Linked DNA regions of Homo sapiens: region 1 is linked to region 2. Evidence: promoter capture Hi-C in human tissues and cell types (Jung and others, 2019). All regions are on one chromosome and are shown on one strand. The core of a region is centred on a gene start or on the middle of the fragment in contact, and the rest is flanking DNA. Distances in the headings are between cores, read along the strand shown.

Region 1 (3,370 bases), core at 597-3,096, 120 kb after region 2:
TACAGTCCAGGAAAGGAGCTAGGGCCCTCCTAAGAGATGATCCCGAATAGGGCCCAGCTGTGGACAGGATGATCTCTTTTCCAGCCGGGCGCCATGGTTCATGCCTGTAATCCCAGCACTTTGGGAGGCCGAGGTGGGAGGATCACTTGAGGTCAGGAGTTCGAGATCAGCCTGGCCAACACAGTGAAACTCCTTCTCTACTAAAAATACAAAAAATTAGCTGGATGTGGTGGTGCATGCCTAGAATCCCAGCTACTTGGGAGGCTGAGGCAGGAGAATCACTTGAGCCTCTGGGAGGTGGAGGTTGCAGTGAGCCAAGATTGCGCCTGGGTGATAGAGTGAGATTCAGTCTCAAAATAAAATAAAAACGCCAAATCCCTTTTCTGTTAGTTGTCAAACACACTAGACATCAGGACACGGTGGTCCTGGCTACATGACTGCCTTGTAACAGTGAGAAATATCCAGAGATGGGATGCATGTTAGAGTTGAATGGGGTTTGTCCCGGGGAGAGAGGGGAACCAAAGGAATAGCAAGAGGGTGGGGAGCTTAGCTTTAAAATAATGTTTTGGCTGGACATGGTGGCTCATGCCTGTAATCCCAGCACTTTGGGAGGCCGAGGTCAGGAGTTTGAAACCAGCCTAGCCAACATAGTGAAACCCCATCTCTACTAAAACTACAAAAATTAGCTGGGCATGGCGGCACATGCTGTAATTCTAGCTACTTGGGAGGCTGAGGTACGAGAATCGCTTGAACCCAGGAGGCAGAGGTTGCAGTGAGCTGAGATCGTGCCACTGCATTCCAGCCTGGGCGATGGAGTGAGACTCAGTCTCAAAAAAAAAAAAAATGTTTTACTCATTTAAAAAATTGGTCTGGTGTACCTACGGCAAATGGGTGGGACTTGCTAAATCTGGTTGGCTGTTGCTTTCTGAAACACAGATTTTAGACTTGAATATATGCATTTGCAAACTCTAAGACATATGCGCCTCTGAACACAGTCTGGGTGAATGCAGTTTGATTGTCACAGGCTTCCGACAGAGTTGCAGGTGTTGTATTGCGTGGTTTTCAACAGCAATCAGACCAAAAGGGTGACTACTAGCATGTGAAAACAGAGGATAAGCTTCCTGGGCTCAAACTCCTGAGCTGGAAGTCAGTTCCAGGCCATAGTGTCCAGCCAGAGGAGGACAGCAAGATCGACTCCTGCGTGACCAGTAGCTCACCTGGTCCAAATGTAGCCTCTTACTATAAAACAAAGGCAGAGAGAGACTGAGGGAACTGGAAAGAGGTTCAATGGAGGAAAAATAAGGCAACCTCAGGGATTCACTTTTACTCTCATTTCATTAAGTTCCAGATATTGGCAGACTGCTGGCCTCCTGAGGAGCACAGGAAGGGGCCTGGCAGACTGGTGATCCTGGTTGGAGATGAAGAGGGGCTGATTAAGAGGAGCTGACTGAGGCTGGGAGGTTTCCTGCCCGGGAGTGGCGAGCCTGTCAGAGCTGCACCTGGGCCTACCTGTACCTAGGAGAGATTCAGGGTATGGTTGGCTTCCCACAAACACCTGGGGCTCGAGGAGTGCGCTGCCTCTGTTCCACACCTGATGTGATCCACATCCACGCCCATGCACCTGGCCAGGAGAGTGACTGTCACTGATGAGGCAGTGTGATAGTACCTCTGATGGTTTCTCTGAGATCAGCCTTTGCACTTCACCTGTGTGGGCCAGATGGAAAGCCAGGGTGGAGACGGAGCACCCTGGGTCAGCTGGGATCCCACCGTGCGATTCCACGGCATGGGGTGTCAGAACCTGGAGTGCCGGTGGTGGCCAGAGCAGGGGTGGGGTGGCATTCCTGTGTCTCTGCCACTCACTGGCTGTGTCACCACAGAAAAGTCATCTAAACCTCTCGGTGCCCCAGTCTTGTTCTCTGTCCATGGCAATTCGGGTAGACCTGACCCGGTTGGATGGCTCTGAGGTTTCAATGAGGTATCATACATGCAAATGGTTTTTTTGGAGCCAGGTTCTTTTTATTTAAAAAGATTTTTTAAAATGGGAATACTCGCTAAAAAGAGTACCTGACCTCAGCTGGGCACAATGGCTCACACCTGTAATCCCAGCACTTTGGGAGGCCAAGGCGGGTGGATCACGAGGTCAGGAGATGGAGACCTGTAGTCCCAGCTACTCGGGAGGCTGAAGCAGGAGAATCGCTTGAACCCAGGAGGTGAGATTGCAGTGAGCTGAGATCACGCCACCGCTCTCCAGCCTGAGTGACAGAGCGAGACAAAAAAAAAAGAAAAAGGAAAAGAACCTGACTTCAGTATCTTTGGGTGTCTGGGATTGAGGAGTGTTCCTGAATGGGCATCAGGGATTGATGAACACTTGTGTAAGAGTTAAAGAAAGAGGAAAAAAACATGAAATTTTTAAAGACAGGTTTACTTTAGATAAAACCTGGAGGGGCTTCTGGCCGATTTTGGTCAGGGGCGCTTTCTGTTACAGACTAAAAGTATATATTGGTTTTAGGGTGAGGGTCTTATCACAAGCTTGGAATGTTTTTGGGTCAGGGAGAAGTCTATAGCCGGGTCGGAATGTTTCTGGGCAGAGAGGAGGTTATCTTGGGGCTGACGTCTTTCCGGCAGGAGGGAGGTTAGTTATCTTGGGGCTGGCATCTTCCCAGCCAGAGGGGGGTTATCTTGGGGCTAGCATGTCTCTGGTTGGGGAGGAGTTTGGAATGTTTCTGGTCGGAGATGTTATTTGTAGTTTCTGGTCATGCCGACCTTAGCCATTAGGCTGATGCCTTTTGGCTTTAGGCGGTTTTTGATTAAGATGAATTTTAAAATAAGGTGCTTGTCCACAATGGCAAGGCCCCTGCTCTGTCACCTTGCCCCCCAAAATTGCAAAGCTTTGTTTCTGTGTATGCATGTATAAATATTTTTTTTTCCCTTAGGAGCAAAGGCAATAGCTTAACTAAGATGTTCAGAGGGATCATGACATAAAGACTGGATGCCTGGGGTTGGGGTCAGGGGCGTGTTTCAGGTGCCTTTATTTTATACCAGAGTTTCCCAACCTGGGGAATCTTGCCATGTGGGGCCAAATCATTCCTTGTTGTTGTGGACTGACTTGTGCATTGCAGGGTGATTAGCAGCATCTCTGGCTCTACCCACTAGATACCAGTAGCACCCTCCACCCCATCCCCACCTCGTTTCACCAATAAAAAATGTCTTCAGACATTGCTCAATGTCTTTGGGGAGGTGAGAGTGGGACAAAATTGCCCCCAACTGAGAACTGCTGCTTTGTGATGTTCCTAGTGGAGTTGAGCCCTCGATAAGTGGTTGTTATTTGCTGTGTTGAAGTTTGGCAAGATTTCTCTTCTGGGCTTTATTG
Region 2 (3,538 bases), core at 766-3,265:
GTGCTCAAGGAACATCTTTCAACAAATGACAAGTGAACATATATTTGTACAGTGTTTTTTTTTTTACTATATGAGACCCAGAAAGGAAGATTGAGCAAGATATTATAAACCAAAAATAAAATTCTAAGGCCCCCCAACCATCTGAAAGGACTTCCTCCTCAGCCAGGACTCTTTTTTTTTTTTTTTTTTTTGAAATGAAGTCTTGCTCTGTTGTCCAGGCTGGAGTGCAGTGGCACGATCTCAGCTCACTGCAACCTCGACTCCTCAGGTTCAAGCGCTTCTCCTGCCTCAGCCTCCCGAGTGACCTGGCTAATTTTTTGTATTTTTAGTACAGACATGGTTTTGCCATGTTGGCCAGGCAGGTCTCGAACTCCTGACCTCAAGTGACCTCAGTCTCCTAATAGTGCTGTGATTACACCCATGAGCCACTGTGCCCAGCCAGGGGTCTTTTTAAAATTTAACCTGAGAGACTGTTTCAGGCCATGACAAGAAGTGGGGATCTAACATGCCTCATCATACCTCTCCAGCATTAACACCAACACAGACCTTAAGTCTGATAAGAAACATTTTACAACCTATTCTCTCTGAAGCCTGCTATCTGAAGGCTTCCTCTCAGTTGCAGTGAGCCGAGATCGCACCACTGCACTCCAGCCTGGGCGACAGACCCGTACTTTTTTCTTTTCTTTTTTCTTTTTTGAGATGGAGTTTTGCTCTTGTTGCCCAGGCTAGAGTGCAATGGCAGGATCTCGGCTCACTGCAGCCTCCCGGTTTCAAGCGATTCTCCTGCCTCAGCCTCCTGAGTAGCTGGGATTACAGGTGCCTGCCACCATGCCCAGCTAATTTTTTTGGTATTTTTAGTACAGACAGGGTTTCGCCATGTTGGCCGGGCTGGTCTTGAACTCCTGGCCTCAGGTGATCCACCTGCCTCAGCTTCCCAAAGTGCTGGGATTACAGGCGCGAGCCATCGCGCCTGGCTAGATGTATTTCTTAAATGTATTTGATTGAAGTCTCATGTCTCCCTAAAGTGTATAAAACCAAGCTGCACCCCGACCACCTTAGACACATGTTCTCAGGACCTCCTGAGGGCTGTGTCACCGGCCATGGTCACTCATATTTGGCTCAGAATAAATCTCTTCAAATATGTCACAGAGTCTGACTCTTTTCATCGACAATATTACATTTATTTTACACATAGAAAAGTATTTCAATTCCAATTAGAAGTTTCATACTTGTCCAAGGCCATGCAAGATAGACGTATCTTCTACCATAGCTGATATGTTGGCACCATAACTTAATCATATTGCACATGTGCGTGGTGTTCCACATTTTTAAAGCCCTTTTAGCTGCAATTATGATACTGATCGGTTAGATATTTTAGACAGTGATGAGACATTTCTTCATTTTTCAGAATAAATAAACTAAACTTTAATTGACTGGCTCATCCGGTATAAATAGCCTTTTCTGGATCAGAACCCAGGTTTTGGGGATCCCAGGGCTGAGAATTTTCAATGATCACACTGTCCCTCTCCTGAGCTAGAGAAAACCTACAGCTCCTTGCACCTCCTGTCTTCCACTCCCCAGCAGAAAACAGAGGAGAAGCTGCAGGAAGTACAGAAATTTGAGCTCCAAAGCCAGGATCTGAACGAGTCAGTTGGCACCAGGGGACCATCTACAAAATATACATCAGAACAGCCTGATCTGCTCTCTGGGCTCTTTTGGACCCATTTAGGGATAGAGCTAGTGGGGCTTGGGGGCTGCTGGTAAGCAGCTTGTGTTTTATTTTACCCAGAAAATTCCCCAGGTGATCTGATTTATCCCCTCTGCGCAAACCGCCTTCGCCACTGTAATCTCTAGCTTAGCTGCCAGAGGTTATCTGATACTCTTGCTCCAGCAGCTCTGGGTAATGGCTCTGCATTGGAGTCGTACACAGAAATTCTCTTCTTACCTTGTGGCTTGGGCTTCCCTGCTGCTTTTGAGAGGCTCACTGCTAGCCGGGCCATGCGCTTTTCTCCTCTGACTCACCAACTCCCCTCTTGGCTTCCTCCTCCTACTTGCTTTTGCATAACCGTCCCTACTCAGAGCACATTTCACTGTCCCTCCCTTCTGCCAAAAACAAAAAAGGACCCACCTTGCAAGACGGGCTTGAGAAAGCACTCGCTCCCAGGAAGCTGTGAAAGTAACAGCTTTAACACTGCTGAGACTCAAGGGGTGGGGAGACTGCTTGAGGTGGGCTGGGAGAAGCAAATGAGGAAGCATTTTCCCCCAGACTGGAGGCATCCTGGCATGTTGACTACTGAAAGGCAACTGTGAAGGTCAACTCCCTATGGGCAGAGTGGGGAGGTGGGGAAAAAGAGAAAGAGAGAGAGAGAGACCCAGGGAGCTAGTAGATGAGGCTGATAGGGAAATTTCATGACACTTACAAGCCGAAAGGCTACAAAATCTCAAACCTGATTTTTAGACCTTGTTCTTATCTCCAAGGAGAAAATGTGAAAGTTATTTCTTGCATTACACCTGCCTGCTCACTCCACCCTGGGTCTAGGGAGGTAACATTTCTCAGCCTCTGTGTTGTATTCAATATCTTCACCCTTGCTACAAGAGGTAATAAATATTTTCTGGGAGGACATAGATGTACTGGCTTGGTGGTACAGGAGAAAAAAAAGTCCCCTTTAAGAAAAAAAGAAACAAATTATCATTAAAGATTACAACCTCTCCCTTGCTGTGTGCCCTTGGGCAAATCACTTACCTACTCCGTGCTACTTTACACGGTTGTCATGAGTCTGAAACAATGGATGCCCGTGAATAAACGTAAATTGTGGTGGAGAATGGAAGCCTCAGACTTTCAAGTCCAAGATCTTGCCGGGCAAGTCATACCACCTCTTTGAGCCCTAGAATATCATCGGTGTTAAATAAGGGTAACAATATCTATTTTACAGTATTGTTGTGAATGTTAGGATTAATGCGTATGAAGCTCCTAACACAATAATATGACAATATAAGAGTTAAAAAGTGGTTGAATAATAATACCTTCCCACCGCCACCCACCCCCGCAACTCAGCTGCCACTTCCTTTTCCAGACCTTGGAAGAGAGAGAGAGCAGGCAGGGAGTTGTGTGAGCTTTGGGATGATCTTTGCCGATTTCCATCAGCTAAGTCCGCTAAGCACAAATGACAAGAACCTGTGGTGCTTGCCTTGACTTGATTTCAATTGTGTGGCTCTTCCTCCCTTCCTGTTTCTCTCTGGCAGAGAGAAGAGAAATTTCTCTTCCTCCAGTGAAGGACTTTGGGCAGAGGTGTAACTGGAAGCACTAGAACTGGGCAGTCGGTAGTTTTGCTTTTATGCACAAAGAGATGATTCAGGTGCTGGCACGACACAGCGAGATGGCACAAGGCTTCATCATGCTACTCAGAATAGTATGTAATAAATGAACTGTTTATTTCTGTAATTTTCCCATTTAATATTTTCAAATCGTGGTTGATGATGAGTAGTTAAAACTGGGAAACAAAACCGTGGATAAAGAGGGGACTCCTGTAGTTTTATT

The links. The method cuts DNA at HindIII sites, captures the fragments that hold promoters and counts their contacts. A contact is called where the count stands out against the background at its distance.
Region 1: a contact is called between a fragment that was not itself captured here and the fragment with the promoter of CHST4 in region 2, in 2 of the 25 tissues and cell types used here (mesenchymal stem cells and pancreas).

What each region holds. Positions count from the first base shown.
Region 1 is chr16:71,408,507-71,411,876 of GRCh38, reverse strand. It overlaps LINC02136 (long intergenic non-protein coding RNA 2136), which reads left to right. Exons shown (of 3, transcript NR_146574.1): 3 at 1,343-1,436. Among named protein-coding and RNA genes, the nearest start is that of LINC02136, 16 kb to the left of the region's middle. The HindIII fragment of the contact is 3,624 bases long and covers 35-3,370 here.
Region 2 is chr16:71,524,903-71,528,440 of GRCh38, reverse strand. CHST4 (carbohydrate sulfotransferase 4) reads right to left here and starts at 2,015. Exons shown (of 2, transcript NM_001166395.2): 1 at 1,946-2,015. RefSeq lists an enhancer at 1,772-2,382. The HindIII fragment of the contact is 30,806 bases long and covers 1-3,538 here.